Linked DNA regions of Homo sapiens: regions 2 and 3 are each linked to region 1. Evidence: promoter capture Hi-C in 16 types of primary human blood cells and fetal thymus (Javierre and others, 2016). All regions are on one chromosome and are shown on one strand. The core of a region is centred on a gene start or on the middle of the fragment in contact, and the rest is flanking DNA. Distances in the headings are between cores, read along the strand shown.

The links. Contacts are between HindIII fragments. The CHiCAGO score rates a contact against its expected background, and 5 or more counts as called.
Region 2: a fragment that was not itself captured here is called in contact with the fragment with the promoter of ELMO1 in region 1 in 1 of 17 cell types (activated CD4 T cells); the score reaches 7.4 in activated CD4 T cells.
Region 3: a fragment that was not itself captured here is called in contact with the fragment with the promoter of ELMO1 in region 1 in 1 of 17 cell types (naive CD8 T cells); the score reaches 5.7 in naive CD8 T cells.

Annotation. Positions count from the first base shown.
Region 1 is chr7:37,447,556-37,450,255 of GRCh38, forward strand. It overlaps ELMO1 (engulfment and cell motility 1), which reads right to left and starts at 1,309. Exons shown (of 22, transcript NM_014800.11): 1 at 1,120-1,309. RefSeq lists silencers at 949-998, 1,009-1,058. The HindIII fragment of the contact is 5,071 bases long and covers 1-2,700 here.
Region 2 is chr7:36,678,019-36,680,718 of GRCh38, forward strand. All of the region lies in intron 2 of AOAH (acyloxyacyl hydrolase), which reads right to left. Among named protein-coding and RNA genes, the nearest start is that of AOAH, 45 kb to the right of the region's middle. The HindIII fragment of the contact is 3,690 bases long and covers 1-2,700 here.
Region 3 is chr7:36,482,400-36,485,099 of GRCh38, forward strand. No RefSeq gene overlaps it. Among named protein-coding and RNA genes, the nearest start is that of ANLN, 94 kb to the left of the region's middle. The HindIII fragment of the contact is 4,800 bases long and covers 1-2,700 here.

The DNA.
Region 1 (2,700 bases), core at 59-2,558:
AGGCGGGAGAGGGTCACTGGGCGGGGAGTTCCTGGCTGTGCGGTCACACACACACACACCGACTCACACACACACCCACAACACCCCCCCCACACACACACACTCACACACACACCGACGACACACCACACACACATACATACGCGCGCGCGCACACACCACACACACACACACACACACACACACACACACACGCCGCCTCGCGCGCGCTCGCGGCACAGCACCGACTTCCCAACCCCAAACACACGCGCGCACCCCCGGGACAGCTGAGTTCTGTATTTCCTCTTCCTCAAAGCGACTCCGGCGATCGCAGTCGCCACTCTCCGCTCCGATTCCCGGGCCCCCTGGCATGCCGCCGCCCCCTTCTCTGAAGGCGCGCCCGGTGCGTCCCCTCTCCGAAGCCGAGATTTCCACGAAGCTCCACAAAGCTCCCCGCCGCCTCTCTCGGTCTCGGCGGAGACCCCGGTGTGTCCCCGGGAGGAGAGTATTTACTAACCAGAACCTCAGGGGCTCCCGGCTGCCCAGACCGCCCTCTCCGGCCCTCCTGGCCCCCATTCCTCTGGCCCATCACCGCCCCCTCCCACGAGCGCGCTCGCCGGGGGATTCCCTCCCATCCCCGAGTGCAGGAGAAGACGCCGAGTCTGAGCCGCAGCCGCTTCTCTAGCTCTATAGGAATCTTGACTCCAAGATCCCAGCCCCACATCCCCCGTCCCCAGTAACCCCGCGCCAGCGTCGCAACCCTCCCGCGCCCCCCCTCCCGCAGACCCTGGTCGAAATGTCTCGGCGGGCTCCCGGGCCCCGGGCCCTGCGCTTCATCCGCGGGCGCCGCACCTCCAGCGCCCCCTCCCTCCGCTCCCACTCCCACTCCCGCCATCCCCGGAGCTCAGACTTCCCCAACTGCAGAGCGCCCCGACGCGCCCGCAGCCCTCACCCTGCCGAGCGCGGCGGCCACCCCCGCCCGAGCCGCGGCGCCCCCAGGGAGGAAACAAAAGTGTCTCCGCGGCGCCCGGAGTCCCCCGGAGCAGGACGCCTCCTCCCGGCCCCAGTCCCGGCCCCCTCCCCTGCCGCGCCGAGGTCAGCGAGTCGGGGCGCGGCGCCAGCCCAGGAAACTTTACGAACCTGCTTGGGGTCGCAGGACAGCAGCGGCAAGGGTTCCCGGCGATCAGAGCTCCGGCGACCCGCCACCATTGAAGGGGAACTGGAGGCTCTGTCGCCCAGCGTGGGGCCGCGGCGGCGTGGGTGGCTCTGCCTCTATCCTGTGCCCATCCTCGCCCGCTCCCGCTCGCCCCAGCACACGCACTTACACTCTGGGTCGGCCGGCTGCTGCACCGCCGGCTGCCGCTGCTCTCACTTCCTCTTCCTTCCTCCTGCTGGCCAGAGACACATTTTGCATCTGCAAGGCATCCGGAGATCAGCCGCGAACTCTCCTCCCGAGCGGACGCTGCGGAGTTGCAGCCGCCGCCCCCGGCACCTGCGCCAGGACACTCGTGGTCTGCGCGTTCGCCTTGCGCCCGCACCCTGCCTGGTCCCTGCCCACTGCACTTTGCCTAGGGGGATGCCCACGACTTTTTGAAGTCCCCCTACTTAAAAGACAGAAATGTCAAACACCATGCATGCCTCAGATCTGCTATAAATAATATGTGTGCAGAGCATGACTTCGATGAGCTCACACACGGCGTTTGGAGGCACTAATTAACTCCGTCACCCTCATAGCGCCATCTCCGGGAGGCCAAAAGCGAGTAGCATCTTTTCACATCCTTTTTTAATTTTTGGCAACCGGTTCCGGATATTAAGGGGAAACTTCGGTGGGCTGTTTGAACGCTACTTTAAGACGTGTTTGTTTTGACGCTGTGCCTCTACCCTTGGACAGAGTGGCAAAAAAAAAAAAAAAAAGTTTCCTCCCTCTCCGTCGACATCTATGTATTTACTAACCCTGCAATTGAAACTACAAGATGTATTTCTAACCAATTAAGCCAGGGACTTCCTAATTTTGCATAACTTTGCATAAGGCAAGACGTTCCACCCATAATTTGATATTTAGAATAAATTACTTAATTCATGCAACCTACTTAAATCATTTTCAAAGCAGAAATCAAAAACGTTAACTCCCAGCCTAGCTGGCAGGAGGGAAGAGGGTTGCAGGCGAACCACCTGTCCTCCCCCAGTTCAGAAATACCTACATTGGCTCTACCGGAAAAGTCAAAGGCAGTTCGGCATTTTCTTCTAATTGGCAAAGGAAATAAGTCGGGGGCAGGGAGGCATCAGAATCAAGGTGGAAAACTAAGCTCCCTTTTAAGATCTTCCCCCTCAAGAGCCACAGGCAGCTGTTGAGCACTTGAAATGTGGCTATCCCTGAGATGTTCTGTAAGTGTAAAACAGACATACAATTCAGTATTTTTAAAATGAATGTAAACTAACTTGTTAAGTATGTTTATGTTGATTACATTATTGCAATACATGAGAATAGTCTGATGTAGTAAGTCAGTTGGATTCGTCATGTGTTGGGTTAAGATATAAGCATATATAAGATTAATTTCACCAGTTTCTTTTTACATTTTCTGATGTAGCTACTAGAAAATGTAAGGCTACACATAGGCTCTCATTAGTGGCTCACCTTATACTTTTAATGAACAGCTCTGATCTAACTCCTTATTATACGCATGACTCTGGGAGGCAGTATTAGTATCAAGAGTGCCTGGG
Region 2 (2,700 bases), core at 43-2,542, 770 kb before region 1:
TGATTGTGGTGACTGATGAACACGCAACTCTATGACTGTACTGAAAGTCACTAAATTGTACACTTTAAATGAGTGAACTGTACAGTATGTGAATTGTAGCTTAATAAAAGTGTTTAAATACAGATTCCCTCTCCCTTGGGATCCTTTTTAGGGGTGCTACTGTGGAGAGGGTCAAGAAGCTCTGATGTCACAGTATACTCAGAGACCTGCATTTCATTCAGTACCAGCCCACTGGCTTCTGGCCTTGGAGAAATTGCCTCCCCTTTCTGGACTTCCATTTCCTCATCTGAAAAATGTGGGTGTAGGATTTGGTCTCTATCACTATAATGTCTGCTAAGTTTGGGGACTTTTGTAAGAGATATTCCAAATTAAATGAAGGAGCTTTGGAAAAAAGTTAAAAGTACTGCTAATGCAGAACTGGCTTAGCCTAGAGCAGAGCAATTTAAAAATGGACATTAGGGTGTTCTTTGATAAAGTTCTAATACTGGCTGAAAGGCAGAGAAAATTCATCTTCTTTCTGGTAAGATAAGCAGTGTGTGTGTGTGTGTGTGTGTGTGTGTGTGTGTGTGTGTGTGTGTGTGTGCGCGCGCGCGCGCGTTAGAATTCTGTTTAGCTCAAGTCAAAGAGGATGGCTGCAGGTTCCTTCCTCCCTGAGCAGAACCATTTGAATAGTTTCCGGTAGTCTTCTGTGATTGTTAGCTTGAGAGGCCCCTGGAGCAATGGCTGATATGGGACAGGAAATGCTCTCTGAGAGCTAAATTCTGAGAGCAATCCGTAAGGGTACAAAGCAGAAATATGCAAAATCTCCAGAAAGAGCCAGCTATCCCCAGTCAGCCATGATCAGATGGTAACCTGATTGTTACTGATACACCTGAAGAAAAATTTGGCATTTACATATTGACAGTAGCTTAGCTAAAGTAAAAATTATACTGTTAAACTCTGCCTGTGACAAGGATCATACAAGAGTATTTAATTTCTACAGATTAAAAGAGACTTGGAACAGCATAGGAAAAAAGAAAATGTGGCTATTCCAAAGGACAAAATAAAGTTAAAATAAGACCAATTAAGTAGTTATCATACATTGGGTGTATACAGATGTATGTGTAAATAAAACATAGGACATTCCAATTTGTAAGTTACCTTCATGTTTACCATCACTTCCTTTCTCATAAGAATCTTTTCTAGTTCTAGATCCCTGAGGAATCACCACACTGTCTTCCACAATGGTTGAACTAGTTTACATGTACCTTAGAACTTAAAGTACAATAAATATATATATAAAAAATAAAAATAAAAAAAAGTATTGAGGCCTCAAAAAAAAAAGAATCTTTTGAGGGGGTAATTATTTTTATCCTCATTCTATAGACAAGAACATTAAGACTTAGAGAGCTTAAGATCACAACATAGCAAGTGGTTCAGCTGAGATTAAAATACTCCAAAAGGTCTTGTTATTTGTAGTATACATTTCAATGTGCTTAGGACATTTTATTTGATGCCTTATCTACCTCAAGTATAGCAGATATTGTTATACATTATTATATGTATAATATGTATACATTATTATATGTATAATATGTATACATTATTACATATGTATAATTATTATATACAAACTTGAAGCACAGTGCCACCAAGGGACCACATAATTATTTTTTTTTGAGACGGAGTCTTGCTCTGTCCCTAGGCTGGAGTGCAGTGGTGCAATCTCAGCTCACTGCAACCTCCACCTCCAGTGTTCAAGCAATTCTTCTGCGTCAGCCTCCTGAGTAGCTAGGACTACAGGCACATGTTACCACGCCCAGTTAATTTTTGTATTTTTAGTAGAGATGGGGTTTCACCACGTTGGCCAGGATGGTCGTGATCTCTTGATCTTGTGATCCGCCCGCCTTGGCCTCCTAAAAGTGCTGGGATTACAGGCATGAGCCACCACAACCGGCCAACCACACAATTTTATAAGTACATATTCTGGGATGCATTCAGACTTTCAGAACCTCCAGAGTAGGCATGAAGTGCCTTCTTTCTTTTAAGACTACATGAGTTTTTAACAATTATATTCCACAGAGATAAAATTTCTGCATAGGTGACCCAGGAAAGTGAACTTGTAGCAAGACTCTCAGGGCATATGATTCTGTTGACCCCTGACTAGTGAGAATGATTCCATTAATCATTTTCCATTAACAATTCCGAGATTCTTCCAAGGTGCTTCCTAATGAGAGCCAGAGGCAAAAGCAGTGGATGAAACTGAGGGTCAGAAATGCTTTGCACGATTAGAAAAAAACTGTCTTATAGGGCACAGGGAAAGGCAACATGATTTACTAAGAGATTATTCTCAAGAATGGTGCTTACGCGATTTCCCTGCTAAAACTTTGTTTTTTGTACTTTTTTAGCTTTGGAGGTGAAAGTAATACTTCACTGAAAAATAATTTAAAAATAATTGTGTGTTTATGTGCTTAATTTCATATCCTTCTGTCCCCCATTCACCTGGCCTACCAGACAGAAGGCAATGCAATATTGGATCCCAGTAGGCACTGTGGGTCAGGCCTATTATGTCTTCCAGGAGAAATCCTTAGCTAGGAGAACGTCTATCTTTGCCACCCCATACAACTGACATAACCATTCTGTTTCTGTGTCTTGTTTTTCTCATCCATAAAATGGAAGCAATACTGCCCATGGTGTCCTTTAACCTGAACTGAGTGTTCT
Region 3 (2,700 bases), core at 20-2,519, 970 kb before region 1:
TTGTTATTTGGAAACAAAAAGAACTCTGGCTTTTTGAGTTGCCAGACTTCTTGCACTGGTTCTTTCTCATCCGTGTGGGGTGATGTTCCTTTAATCTTTGAAGTTGCTGTCTTTATGTGTGTTTTTTTTCTTTTATCTCCTTTGATGCCCTTGGGGGTTTGATTATGGTATAAGGTGGGTTTAGTCAACTTGCTTTGATTCTAGTCCACTCTTGGATCTTGGAGGAGCCCCTTCTGATTACTGTCTCTATATCCACGTTTTGTTGTTGGGTGTTCTGGTACATGGGGCTCCCTCAGGCAGGGGCCACAGTTGGCCAGCTGGCTGTATGCTTTCTGGGTTGGCCTTAATTTGCTGTCTGAGTGCTTTCTGGCTGGGAGAAGACAGGGTTGTGCCTGCCCACAGAGTTCAGGCAGAAGCAGGACTACTGGGCTTGAAGCTCTAGCAGGCCTGGCTGGCCTGGCTATGAGAGGCAGGGATGGGTGGAGTCACCTACTCTGCCATTTGGGTGTTCTTCCTAGGACGACAGGAGGCTGTATCTGCCAGCTAAGTTCAGACAGAAGTGGGACCACTGGGCTGGAAATTCTAGCAGGTGTTGCCCACCTGGCTACCAGCAGCCAGGGGGTGGGTGGGGTCACCCATCCTGCCACTTGGGCATTTCCCAGGACAGTGGGAGGCTGCACCTGCTGGCTGAATTCAGACAGAAGTCGGACTGCTGGGCTGGAAGCTCTAGCAGGCATTGCTTACCTGGCTATCAGTGGTAGGGGTGGGTAAGGTTGCCTACCCTGTCATCCAGGTGATTCCCAGGATAACAGGAGGCTGTAGCTGTCAGCTGAGTTTGCACAGAAGTGGGACTGTTGGGCCAGAAGCTGGTGCCAAGCTCCATCTGGCGAGGGGCAGGTAGAGCAATCTTACTGCTCCCAGGCACCATGACTGTGGTCTCTATTGAGGCTATGGCACTGGTACTGGTCTGCTCTGGGGTCTCAGGCCTGGAGAGGTCCCCTTGGACTCAAGAGTTGCCCCTGCGAAATGTCCAGGTGGTTCTCTGCCTTAGTCTTGAAGTGCAGTGGGGGGTGTGGGAAGGCCAGGAGAATTCTCCCATTCTCAGTTTTGCACAGGTCCTCGTGGAAAGTGTGAATCCCTCAGGGGGCTCTCACTCACTCATCCTTTCTGGTATTGGAGAGATTCTCCTGGCTCTGCACTGAGCCCAGACAGGCTGGTGCCCAGTTCTGCTCTCTATGTTTCTTGGCTACCTTGATGGATCCCAATGTGTGTGTGTGTGTGTGTGTGTGTGTGTGTGTGTGTGTGTGTGTGTTTAGATGGAGTCTTGCTTTGTTGTGCAGGCTGGAGTGCAGTGGCACCATCTTGGCTCACTGCAACCTCTGCCTCATGGGTTGAAGCAATTCTCCTGCCTCAGCCTCCCGAGTAGCTGGGACTACAGGCATGTGCCACCCAAGCCCAGCTAATTTTTGTATTTTCAGTAGAGACGGGGTTTCACCATGTTAGCCAGGTTGGTCTCAAACTCCTGACCTCAGGCAATCTGCCCACCTCGGCCTCCCAAAGTGCTGGGATTATAGTCATGAGCCACTGCACCCGACCACAGTGTAGTTTTTCAGATGACTGGCCTGCAGGGTCAGTGTTCACTAGCCCTTTTGTTTCCTTTCTGTGAGAGTGGTGCACATGAGCTGCTTCTAGTCTGGCATCTTGGTCCAGTTCCATCTTGGTCCAGTTCCACTCTATCCTTCCTGGCTTCATTCATTTGCATCGTTGTTAACATCCCTTCTCAACAAAACTAAAGGATCTCCCTCAAGATGCACATTCCTGAGAAGTCAGGGAGTGTGTGTGTGTGTGTGTGTGTGTGTGTGTGTGTGTGTGTGTGCATGTGAACGCATGCGTGGACATATGCATTCATCATAAATAGACTGTAAGTCCCACTTAACTATATCACTATATTAATTTGCTCATTCCCTTGGTAAAATTCTTTGGTAACCATCAGAGGCTAGTGGAATGCTCCCTAACAGGTGTGTGCATTTCTGTTTCTACAAGCAAATGTCAGAAGAGTCAATAGTGTTTGCTCCCAAACGTGATCGTACCAGTTGTAAATGACATACTGTAAATGTCATAGTTAAACATTATATAAACTGAAAGTGTGAAAATGAAATTTTTAAACAATAACTCAGAGATTCTATAAAGATTAACTGCCGAGCGCAGTGGCTCACGCCTGTAATCTCAGCACTTTGGGAGGCCAAGGCGGGCAGATCATGAGTTCAAGAGATCGAGACCATCCTGGTGAAACCCCATCTCTACTAAAAATACAAAAATTAGCTGGGTGTTGTGGCACGCACTTGTAGTCTCAGCTACTCGGGAGGCTGAGGCAGGAGAATCGCTTGAACCCGGGAGGTGGAGGTTGCAGCGAGCTGAGGTTGCGCCACTGCACTCCAGCCTGGGTGACAGGGTGAGACTCCGTCTCAAAAAATAAAAATAAATTAAAAAAAAGAAACTGCGGCCATATTAAGTACAAAAGGGAAAAAGAGTAGAAATCTAGAAGAACAATGCTCTGAGATTACTTCATCAGTTTCTTTAAATTTAGTTCTCTTTAGAGACCTGGACAGTGCACATTGTTTGTTTACATAAGGAAGAGGTTATATAATTCATTCTACAGACTCCTGCTTAAAGAAAAGGGCTGTGCTTACAATACATGTG